Linked DNA regions of Homo sapiens: regions 2 and 3 are each linked to region 1. Evidence: promoter capture Hi-C in 16 types of primary human blood cells and fetal thymus (Javierre and others, 2016). All regions are on one chromosome and are shown on one strand. The core of a region is centred on a gene start or on the middle of the fragment in contact, and the rest is flanking DNA. Distances in the headings are between cores, read along the strand shown. Region 1 holds the start of LDLRAD4 (low density lipoprotein receptor class A domain containing 4). Region 2 overlaps LDLRAD4 (low density lipoprotein receptor class A domain containing 4). Region 3 overlaps LDLRAD4 (low density lipoprotein receptor class A domain containing 4).

Region 1 (3,710 bases), core at 1,211-3,710:
CATTCTGTTAACTATTTCCAAAAATTTTTCCAGGTTAATATGGTGCGCTCTTCTTTTACAATGTTTTATCACTTCTTGAGGGATAACATTTTTCCTTCTCTACTAACTCTTACACAGGAAGAAGGACACATCATAGAGACTGGATAAGCCCAGATTCCAAAGAAAGATGAGAAGAAACATGGCAAGGACTACCAGAAAGATCAGAGCAGTCTACAATTTCAAGAATTCCTGCCCAGGGCCCTGAGGTGGCTTTGGTTTTACGTGATGACGTAGAGCAGTCACCTCCCACCCACCACAAGGAGACTTTATGCTGGCTACATGCAGAGACGTCAGGAGCTCAGGGATCTCTGCTGGACTGCCTGCCAGAAACCATGCACAAGGAGCAAAAGTCACTCTCCTCTGACTGTGCTTCCCTATCAGTCAGGGAGGTTACCCCTGCAGCAGCCCAGAGCAAAAACAGAGAGCGTCCCAGGAGCTATGAGGCTGGTCTGCCAGGCTGCTAAGTCAACCAAGACTACAGCACAGTCCCAAACTGTAAACACCTCTGCAGACGGGCCCTTGCTCTCCGCGTGCCAGGCAAGAAAACTATTCTTAGAACACTGTCAGCAGTTGGGGGAAAATAAATATTTGTCTATGTATGTATATACTCCAGTGGGAGTAGGGTGGGGTGCAGGAGTCTCAAATAATGTGCCAACAAATTGGCACAAAATCCCTTAATAAGCAGCTGGCACTGGCTGCGTTCCACTGCAGGATTGTGGTCTTGCAAACCAAGCCCATGAGAGGATTCAAGAGACAGCCCTAAAAACCTGCCGGGAAGAGTCTTCTCCAATGTAAATACAAACCTACACGAACCAGGACCATGGCCAACAATGGCAAGCCCTTCCAAGGGTAACAGCAGAATGTTAAGAAATTAGAGAGGTCATTTAAAACAAGGGAGGAAGGTAGCTACAATTCCATTACAGCAAATCCCTTACTGGCATTTACATTCCCAGCCCTAATTCCTAACACTGTGTTCAATGTCAATAGCAAAATGAAGCTCTTAAAAAGAATTAAGCTTTCAAAGATCATAAGGAAGTTAGCCCCCTGTTTTAAAAAGCACTGCTTAGAAAGGTCCATCAAATAACATTTCAAGGGTTGATGGGAAACCAAATATAATTCAATAAATATACATGGGTAATACTCAGACATCCTCATTTGTCTATGTAATGACTCAGATTTGACACTCTGATCCTTGACTGAACACAAAGACTATATTCCAGAAGAATTGTGCAGAGTACAAAGGGAGAGTTACAGATGACAACACACTCGAGTTAAAGACTAGAAAAGACAATACCATATACAGAATGCAGACATGACTTGATGCAATGGCAGTCTCCCTGTGCAGACTTTGCAGAACCTTCTCTGTCATTCAATACTCAGTCCTGAAGCTCCAGGGAAGATACAGAGAGGAGGATGCCATTCTTGGCTAGCCAAACCGGCAGAAAGGGCCGTTTTTAAAAGGAAGCTTCCCAGCACTAGCCCTTCGAGAAGGCACCAACCTCCTTACCAGCCATAGGACCCTATTTTTGAGAGTCAATGCTGCTCACCATCTCTATCCACCTCTACTGCAAATAACTTACTAATACTAGCGCTCAGAACCCACATTCTGTGCAGCTACTCTTACCTCACATCCTACAATGCCTAACACATAGTAGGCCCTCAATAAATATGTATTGCAATGGTAATTAACATTTAGAAAGCAGCGCTGGTCCGGGGATGAGAAGATGCCAAAATAATTAGAAAAGAGAAAAAGAGAAGGGAATAGACCAAGACACAGAGGAAAAGAAAAGAAGCAAATCAAAATTATCTAATTCTAGCTAATTAAAAAATTTTGGGGGAAAAACAAAAATCATGCTAGTTCATGCGGCTATGGGCACACAGCAACCATTCCTGTGCCTGGGCAGAGCTAAGGAGTCCTGCTTGCTTTAAAGAGCTTCTAGCTGCCCTGACTGGCGACGAGGTGTCCCTCCAGGTAGGTGACCCAAGAACGCTGTACTCTCGGATGCGCCTTCCCCCAGTGCCGCCCACCCACCATGCGTCCCTGTCGTCCTGAAAACCTCTGCCTCATCGGGAAACCTTCTCCTTTTCCAATTAAAAAAAAAAAAAAAAAAGTTTAAACAAGCAAATGCCCTCTCCGCCACGATAGCGATTTAACCTAAACCGAACCCACTGTCTTCCACCGGTGTACTCACAGGGCGCGCCCCCAGGCCCACCCGGGGCGGCGCACCGGGAAGGGGTCCCGAGGAAGCTTCCTAAAGGCTGTGCAGGGCAGACCCCTTCACAAAGGCAAGTGCCGGGCCGGGCTGGGTGCTTGTCGCTTCCTGTTTATTCCAAGGTGAGGGGCAGAGAGAAATTCAACACACGCCTGCTTCCTCCGGGGCTCGGAGACCCAGCCTAAGTGCAACAGCAGCAGCCCCAGACAATCGACTTCCCAGCCAATGCCGGGAGCTCCGGGCGGTCCCGCGACCGACGTCAACGCGCGCGGGGGGACCCGGGGGGACGCCGGGTGAAGCGGGCCCGAGGGGCCGGGGCCGGGGAGCGCGCGGTGCAGGATGCGGGACTGAGGGGCTGCGGGGCTTGGCCCGCCCCCTCCTTCCCGCAAACTCCCCGGTCAGGTCCTGCAGGATCTTCCCGCTTCCCGCTGACCTCCAGTCCCTGCCCGCCACGGCTCGCCGAGGCCTAGGGGCGCGGAGACAGTTGGGGCTGCCATCCGCGCGCCCATCCTGGCCTCCGGGCGGTGCAGAATTCAGTCTTGCAACCGCGGGACACCCTGCGCCCCAGGGCACCAGGAAACAGAAAACGGGGTGGGGGTCGGCGAAGTCCCTCCACCGGCGTAACCCCGCCCGCGGGCCAGCCCCGGATCCCCGCCGTGCCCACCGGCAAGCCCACCCGGACCAAGCCTCACAGACCTCGCGCGCTCGGCGCCCAGCTTCTCCCTCCGGCCCCAGCCGACGGCGCAGGCTCGCGGACGTCCAGTTCCCAAAGCGTCCGGTTCCCGAGTCCCCCGCCACCCCTCCCTCCGGAGCGCAGCGGTGAACTTGGGCCAGAAGCCCCGACCACTGCGGCCACCTCGGGTCCGCACTCACCTGGGCCGCCCCCCCGGAGCGGAGGCGGGGACTGCCCGCAGTGCGGCTCCGCGGCCACCGGCCCTGCTGGCCAGGGGGAGGGGCGCTGTGCGGGGCGCGGCAGGGGGCGCGCGGCGGGCCGGCGGGGAGCGCGGCGCGCCGGGGTTCTTTAAGAGCTGAGGACCTCACCCCCGGGCCTCCCCCGCGCTCCCCGCCCTGCTTCCACTTTCCCAGGCACCCGCAGCCTGTCTGGCTGCAGCGGCGGCAGCGGCTCAGTGGCTTGCAGGGGATCCCCGGCCGGCCGCGGCGGCGCGCGGAGCGGGCAGGGCCAACGCACTCGCCTGCTAATCCCGCCGGGCCCGGTCCGCAGCCTCAGCGCGGGGAGAGAGGGGACGCGGCGCTGCGGCCGCCGGGGAGGTGTCCCGCCTCCAGTCGCCGGAGGGGGGAGTGTCCCGCCTCCCGCCGCCGTCGCCGCCGTCTGTCTCCAGCCGTGACTGCGCGCCGCGGCTGTGTCTGTCTCCAACTCCTCCAGTCTCTCCTCCTCCTTCCCACTCCGCGGTGGGGACCCGGCGCGCGGCCAGGCCGCGGGTACCGGGGCCGCCGTGG
Region 2 (3,710 bases), core at 811-3,310, 170 kb before region 1:
GAAACTTATCACTAAAACCTCACTCTAAAGAGCATCGGCAGAACTAGAGAGAGGAGAGAACGGAGGCAGGGAGACGGTCTCATGACACTGTTTCTCTGCAGCACTTGACATACACCTGGCAAGAGCTCCGTCAATATTTGCTCAACAGAAGCAGCCCGCCGGGGACCACTGCATTGGCGCAGGTGGGACAGGCACACGGGAGCTGCAGATGGCAGGAGGCGACCCCCAAAACATTTGTGGCTTCTCCAGAGTGCGTGCTATGAGAAGCTGTCCCTGCCTGCTGTTCTCTCTAAAATGCCTTCCAGGTCTTGTCATTTGGAAAACACTGCCCGCTGCCTGCCCACCTGGGACCTTCATACTGCACAGCCCCATATTAAAGACTGAAAAGTTCTGTAGTAAAGAAACTGATTTAAGTTTCTTCTTCCAAGCTTTGGCCATTAATTCACCCCCACTCCTTTTATGGAGGAACAGCTCTCAATATCTCCTAAAGCGAGCATTCTCTGGGCAGCTCTGGAAGGCGGGGGCTGAGGGCATCCGTGGGTCAGCCACAGGTGCAACCTTGCAGAGGAGAGGGATGAGGAATGCGCGGAAGGTCTGTGGGGTGGGAAGGGCACGCCGGGAGCTGCTCCTGAACACAGCAGCCCAGTCACACCCCCAGCAAGCCTACATCCTTCACTCGGAGCCCACAGGGGAAACAGCTCCAACTATTCCATTTAAGTGATTCTTTTTCAGTCTCATTAGTGGCTAAGAAAACCTGGTCACCAACATCCACAAAATAGCACTTTCAGACAAAGACTACTAACTGCCCTCCTCCTCCTTTATGAGCGAAATAACCTTAATTTATTTAACAATTAGATCTGATTCTCCTTTCACCAGAAAGACTCGCTATAAATTCTATAGGAATTTGATTCACTTACCTAGTTATTTGAGGTTAAATGTTTTTCTCTAACATTAAAATAATTTAAAAAGCCTAAGAAAATTAATTGTGCAAAACCTCTGCAGCATCCAAGGGTGGTACCATGGGCCGGGAAGAGGCAGAATCTCAAGCCAGCAACCTCTTTAGGATGTGTACGGTGACACCCAGAAAGGATGCATTCCAAGTCAGTCAAAACCACAAGAAACCTCAGGTGAAATCTCCACCACTATGACGGCACCTGGGACAGAGGCCGGCGGACCCAGCCCGGAAGGGTCCCTGCTTCCCTCTGCTCAGAGGAACTGGGGGTTTGTTTTTAGGACAGCCAGAGTCTTATCTTTCCCAAGTCCATTCACCTATATCATTGCTCAATGAATGACAGCCAGGCAGAAAGAGGGCCTGGAAGCACAAAAACAGTAAGTTTAGGACATCTGTGTTTTTACATGCTCAAGTGTAACATGAAGGTGCTCCACACAACACATGGCACTCAGGCGGCCTTTAGAGCCGCATGCTGCAAAGAGCTTCACAAATGCCCTGTGAGGCAGGTGGGGGCCGCTCCACGCACAGCTGAACCGTGGAGGACACACCCAATTCTGAGCGCAGTCACTGTGAACAGGCAACTGGCAACAGAAGGAAACCAGTTTCAGCACAGCCTCAAAAGTTAGGATCAATCAATCCTTCTGGAAATTTAATTATAAGCTGTAACAGAATTCACATCTTTGGACCCAATAATTTTGCCTCAGGGAGTTTATCCTAAGGAAATAATCAAATATACAGAAGAGCTTTTATGCACAAAGGTGTTCATCAAAGCGTTATTCATAAGGGTGAAAACCGTCAAAAAGTGGACTATCCAACAACAGGAACACAATTTTAAAATTCAAGTACATGTACATGAAAATATTATGCAGCAATTTAAAATCGTATTTATAAGAAAAATGCTCGTAATGTAATGTTAAAAGGGAATGATCAAGTTACCATATTAAATACTATTATGAACACAGTTCTGTAGGAAGAAATTTGCAAAAGACAAAACTGGAAGGATGTAAACTAAAATGTTGCCCGAAGAAAGAGTCACATGGCAAAGATGCGTGTAGGAAATTATTTTTCTTTTGACTCTTGCGCTTTCCGAGTTTGCTTACAATGAGCAGATGCTACTTGTAAAAGGAAAAAATTAATTTTTGATATAAAATACTATCTAAATGACTAAAATCATTTCTAAATTGCATATGCTGAGAAAACTAAAAATAATGTATCAATTCCTGTATGCAAGCATTCACCTAAGATCATAATTAAGAAGTTAAATACGCATCTATGTGAGTATACCCACACTCACCCAGGAGGCACGAGGTCAGAGTGAACTCCATCACACAGGATTGCCAACGTGGCATGGGGACAGGGGCCTTCCAAACTCCCACCCCCTTCATGGTACTTTCACACGCTCCAAACAAACGCAGCTTCATGGCAGGTCTCCCAGCCCTCCCCCACAGCCCGAGTGCTGCCCAAAACCCTCTTAAAGAGGAATTCTGAGCCTCTACCCTCCAAGAGAATTGGAACATAAAGTGACAAATTTTAGTGGACATATGGTTAACTGCCCAGTGATGTTTGCCTGGCCCTAAAACAAAATTTAAAGCCTAGGGAAGATGCCTCAATGTCTTATCTAAGGCAAGACTCCTTTCTATTAGCCCAGAGAATCAGCAAAATCCAAAATTTTAAGAACAGCAACCCAACTAAGGCAGTGGGCTGGGCACCGGACTCCTGAGCGCCTCCTTCTAAAGCTACACCTTCACCCAGCTGCCTGGGCAGGCAGAGTGTGTCAGCCCCTGCATCCTACATCACAGGGACTCTTGCAAACTATGTGGGCAGACAGATGGGAAGGGAGACCAAGAATAAAAATGATGAGCCAAGTCTCCAGGGACCCAGCTCCAGAGAAGGCCAGGCGCTCACATCTCCTTATTTCACTGCTGGTTACTTCCTAGAGAGAGATGGGGAAGCTAAAACTGCCACCCTGCAGGTGCTGGCGCACCCAACAGTGTGAACACTATTCAACACATGATGGTCTGAGAACAGGCAGACCCATTATTTTGATCCCCCCTGCTGAAGGAATGGCACAAGTCAGGTGATTTTTTTTTTTTGAGACATGACCCCCTCAAGCACCCTGGCCTCTCTCTGAACACTGCTCTGCTGGGTGCCAGCTCCCAGTGCTTCCCAGACTTTAAAGTGAGCCAAGCACCTAGGATCTTGTGAGGATGAGAGTCCTGATTTAGCAGGTCTAGGTGATGCCAAGACCAATTAAACCTCAGTCTCTGAGGGTGAGACCCAGGTGGTAGGGAAGCTCCCCAGGGAACCCGTGTGTACCCAAGGCCACACAGCGTGGGACAATCTGGAGAGGCCACTGGCACCAGCCAGTTCCTGCCTGCACTGAGTGTGCCCCGCGCGGCGCTGTGTTGGTGTGACACCTGGCAAAGGACACATAGCAGGAGCACGGCTCCCGGCACACTGTGGCTCCAAAACGGCGGCTGTGGCGAACACCCCACCACTGCCGCTGGCACACCTTGTTCCTCAGCCAGGCTGACACTGGGGGGAAGAGGCCAAAGTAAGGAAACAGATTCTTGGGAAACTCATAAATGTGAGCTGAAAGAGAGGAGCCAAAGTATTCTCAGCACAAAGAAATGATAAAATGTGCAGTGATGAGCAGAGCCCATTAGCCTGACCTGTTCACTCTACAACACATACATGTATCAAAACATCTCACTGGAACCTACCAATATAGAAAGCTTTTATTCATAAATTACAAATA
Region 3 (3,710 bases), core at 809-3,308, 130 kb before region 1:
CCTAAGCTGCCAGAGGACTCAATGAATGGTCACAGCACATCTATCTTCATCTAACAGCACAAGCCCTTGCCCTCAGTGCCGACCAAACTGCACATTGAGGAGAATGAGAATAAATCTCTGTAAAATGATTTTGGAATATATTTTAAAAGAAAGTTTAACTCCATTAATGGATCCTGGGTTCAGAACCCCAGCTAAATAATGTCTGAATCACACCACCAGAAGGCTCAGCTGATCACTGATTCATTCCCCATCCTCAAGAAGGATGGTGTCTAAGTCATCTCAGGCCCCTTTGGTTTCATGGAGCAGTAATTTAGTTCAGACTGCCTCTAGTTCTCTATATTTTTCCATCACACAAATGATGTAATTTCTAATCACAGTAGCCTATGTCAAAATTACAGAATGTGCAAGAGAATGCACCCAACAGCAATAAAAGAACATTTTCCATTATATCCATTTCATGCTGTTGGTCCCAAAATCTTACCATTTCAAAGAGTAAATTCCTTTTTCATAAATAAAAAGTTGTGCTGCAACCAAATCAACACCGTAAGAACTTCCATATGATAAATTTTAGCATAAAATTGACAATTCTTATTGCATTCTCCAAAGTACTTGAAAAAATTAAATGCTAAGCTTTTCTTATTTCTTTTTTTAGAGACTGGGTCTTGCTATATTGCCAAGGCTGGAGGGCAATGGCTACTCACAGGTGCAAACATGGCACACTACAGCCTCGAACTCTTGGGCTTAACTGATCATCCCAACTCAACTTCCCAAGCAGCTGGGACTACAGGTGTGCACCACCATGCCCATCTAAAACTCTAAACATTTTTAATCCTGTGAGTTAAATCACTGTTGTATTAACTAGGAAAAAAAAAGAATATTATCTGGAGCAGTGACATCAGCAAAATAGCAGACCAGGAGGCTCCAGGCCCTCATTCACCCAAAGAAACATTAAAGAAAAACAACTAGAGACTAGCTACATTAACTTTATAAAAGAGCTGGAAAACAAAGTTCTATAGTCATTAAGCAAATGCCTACTGAAGAAGCCACATTCAAAATGTCTGCCATTTCATTTCATTTTTATTCACTCTTTTTTCCCCTACTTCCCAGCCTGGTGTAGCCTTGGGCTGGAGGAGGCAGTGGCCAAAGCTTCCAATTCCCTCCCTCTGAAGGGAGTAGACCTGACCTAATTTGCAATATTTTAACCTGTCTGAGGACTGCCTGAGGACTGGTCTCTGCATTGCCTAACTCCAAGCTCAGAAGGCAAAAACCACCACAGCTTGCCTCTCAGGCTAGGAAAAGGCACAAGAAACAGGAAGCAGCAGTGACAGCTACTCTAAGAAAACAGACCCACAGACACCTAGGGCAACAGACTGCAGGCAGAGGAATACAATAGAATACATAAGGTCCAGCAGCCAAGGTGAGAGTATTGGGGAAATTAAGAAAATTAAAAGCCACCATCTATACTTGGGAATTGAAAAGCATACACACAGGCCCACATAAGACACATACCCAGAAAAGGGCCTAGCAAGGCCTTAAGCCTTCACAGTGAGCTATCCCAAAGCTCAGCTTGTTAATAAAGCTCAGCTGATCCCAAAGGTCCTCCCCAACACAAAGCCACTCTAGAAAGACAGGAGGAAGTGGTTATTTTTTTTTCAAATGCCTAATTTTCCATTTTAAAAAAGCACACGACATACAAAAGACAAAACAGGAAAACATGGCTTACAAAAATGAAGAAAATAAAGCAGTGGAAACTATCCCTGAAGAAACATAGGCACTGGATATACTAGACAAAGATTTTACCACATAAGTCTTAAATATGCTTAAAGAGCTAGAGGAAAAATGGACTAAGTACTAAAGAAAATCAGGAAAATGATTTAAAAACAAAATGAGAATAATAGCAAAGAGACAGAAATTATAAAATGGAACCAAACAGAAATTCTAGAGCTGAAAAACACAACTGAATGAAAAATGCTACTATATTTTCAAAAATATATTACAGGAGCTCAACAGCAAACTCAAACAGGTAAAAGAAAGAATAAGAAAATCTAAAGACAAGTCATTTAAAACTACTGAATCTGAGAGGTAGAAAGAAAAAAGAATGAAGAAAAGTGAACAGAGCCTAAGAGGCTTATGGGGCACAAGCAAGGGAACAAGTATACATGTTACGAGAATTCCAGAAGGAGAAGAGAGAAAGAGGAAGATATTATTTGAAGGAATAATAGCAGAAAATGTCTCAACTTTGAGAAAATACATAAATTGACAAATCCGAGAAATTTAACAACTCAAAGTAGGATAAAACTAAAGAGACCCACACCAAGACATATTCAAACTGTCAAAAGACCGAATCTTTTAAGTACTGAGAGAAGTGAACCATCATATACAAAAGATATCCAGTAAGATAATCAGCACATTGTTCAGCAGAAACCCAGCAGCCCAAAGGCAATGTGAGGATTTATTTAAACTGCTGAAAGGGAAAAATAAAACAAACAAAAACAACCTGTCAGCCAAGAATTCTGTATGTTCCAAAACTTGAACTAAAAATGAGACAATTTGACGTCCTCTATTCCTATTTGAATACTCTTTATTTCTTTCTCTTGCCTGATTGCCCTGGCCACAACTTCCAACACTATGTTGAATAGAAGTGGTGAGAAAGGGTATCCTTGTCTTGTGCTGGTTTTCAAAGGGAATGCTTCCAGCTTTTGCCCATTCAGTATGATTTTGGCTGTGGGTCTGTCATAAATAGTTCTTATTATTTTGAGATATGTTACATCAAGACATAGTTTATTGAGAGTTTTTAACACAAAGGGATGTTGAATTTTATCAAAGGCCTTTTCTGCATCTATTGAGATGATCATGTGGTTTTTGTCATTGGTTCTGTTTATGTGATGGATTATGTTTACTGATTTGCATATGTTGAACCACCCTTGCATCCTAGGGATGAAGCCAACTTGATCATGGTGGATAAGCTTTTTGATGTGCTGCTGGATTCGGTTTGCCAGTATCTTATTGAAAATGTTTGCATTGATGTTCATCAGGGATATTGACCTGAAGTTTTCTTTTTTTGTTGTGTCTCTGCCAAGTTTTGGTATCAGGATGATGCTGGCCTCATAAAATGAGTTAAGGAGGAGTCCCTTCTTTTCAATTGTTAGGAATAGTTTCAGAAGGAATGGTACCAGATACTCTCTGTATCTCTGGTAGAATTTGGCTGTGAATCTGTCTGGTCCTGGGCTTTTTTCGGTTGGTAGGCTATTAATTCCTCAATTTCAGAACTTGTTATTGGTCTATTCAGGGATTCAACCGAAGACAACATGATTCTATATTTAGAAAACCTCATCATCTCAGTCCAAAAACTTCTTAAGCTGATAAGCAACTGCAGCAAAGTCTCAGGATACAAAATCAATGTGCAAAAATCACAAACATTCCTATACACCAACAACAGACAAGCAGACAGACAAATCACAAATGAACTCCCATTCACAATTGCTACAAAGAGAATAAAATGCCTAGGAATACAGCTAACAAGGGATGTGAAGGACTTCTTCAAAGAGAACTACAAACCACTGCTCAAGGAAATAAGAGGACACAAACAAATGGAAAAACATTCCATCCTCATAGATAGAAAGAATCAATATCATGAAAATGGCCACACTGCCCAAAGTAATTTATATATTCAATATTATTCCCATCAAACTACCTTTGACATTCTTCAC

The links. Contacts are between HindIII fragments. The CHiCAGO score rates a contact against its expected background, and 5 or more counts as called.
Region 2: a contact is called between a fragment that was not itself captured here and the fragment with the promoter of LDLRAD4 in region 1, in 14 of 17 cell types (naive CD4 T cells, megakaryocytes, activated CD4 T cells and 11 more). The highest score is 20.5, in naive CD4 T cells.
Region 3: a fragment that was not itself captured here is called in contact with the fragment with the promoter of LDLRAD4 in region 1 in 5 of 17 cell types (megakaryocytes, non-activated CD4 T cells, M1 macrophages and 2 more); the score reaches 6.4 in megakaryocytes.

Annotation. Positions count from the first base shown.
Region 1 is chr18:13,217,510-13,221,219 of GRCh38, reverse strand. It overlaps LDLRAD4 (low density lipoprotein receptor class A domain containing 4), which reads right to left and starts at 2,460. Exons shown (of 7, transcript NM_001378100.1): 1 at 2,232-2,460. RefSeq lists a silencer at 3,300-3,669. The HindIII fragment of the contact is 2,786 bases long and covers 2,290-3,710 here.
Region 2 is chr18:13,389,992-13,393,701 of GRCh38, reverse strand. The region is part of intron 3 of LDLRAD4 (low density lipoprotein receptor class A domain containing 4); the gene reads right to left. Among named protein-coding and RNA genes, the nearest start is that of LDLRAD4-AS1, 36 kb to the left of the region's middle. The HindIII fragment of the contact is 3,259 bases long and covers 431-3,689 here.
Region 3 is chr18:13,351,161-13,354,870 of GRCh38, reverse strand. All of the region lies in intron 2 of LDLRAD4 (low density lipoprotein receptor class A domain containing 4), which reads right to left. Among named protein-coding and RNA genes, the nearest start is that of LDLRAD4-AS1, 75 kb to the left of the region's middle. The HindIII fragment of the contact is 1,820 bases long and covers 1,149-2,968 here.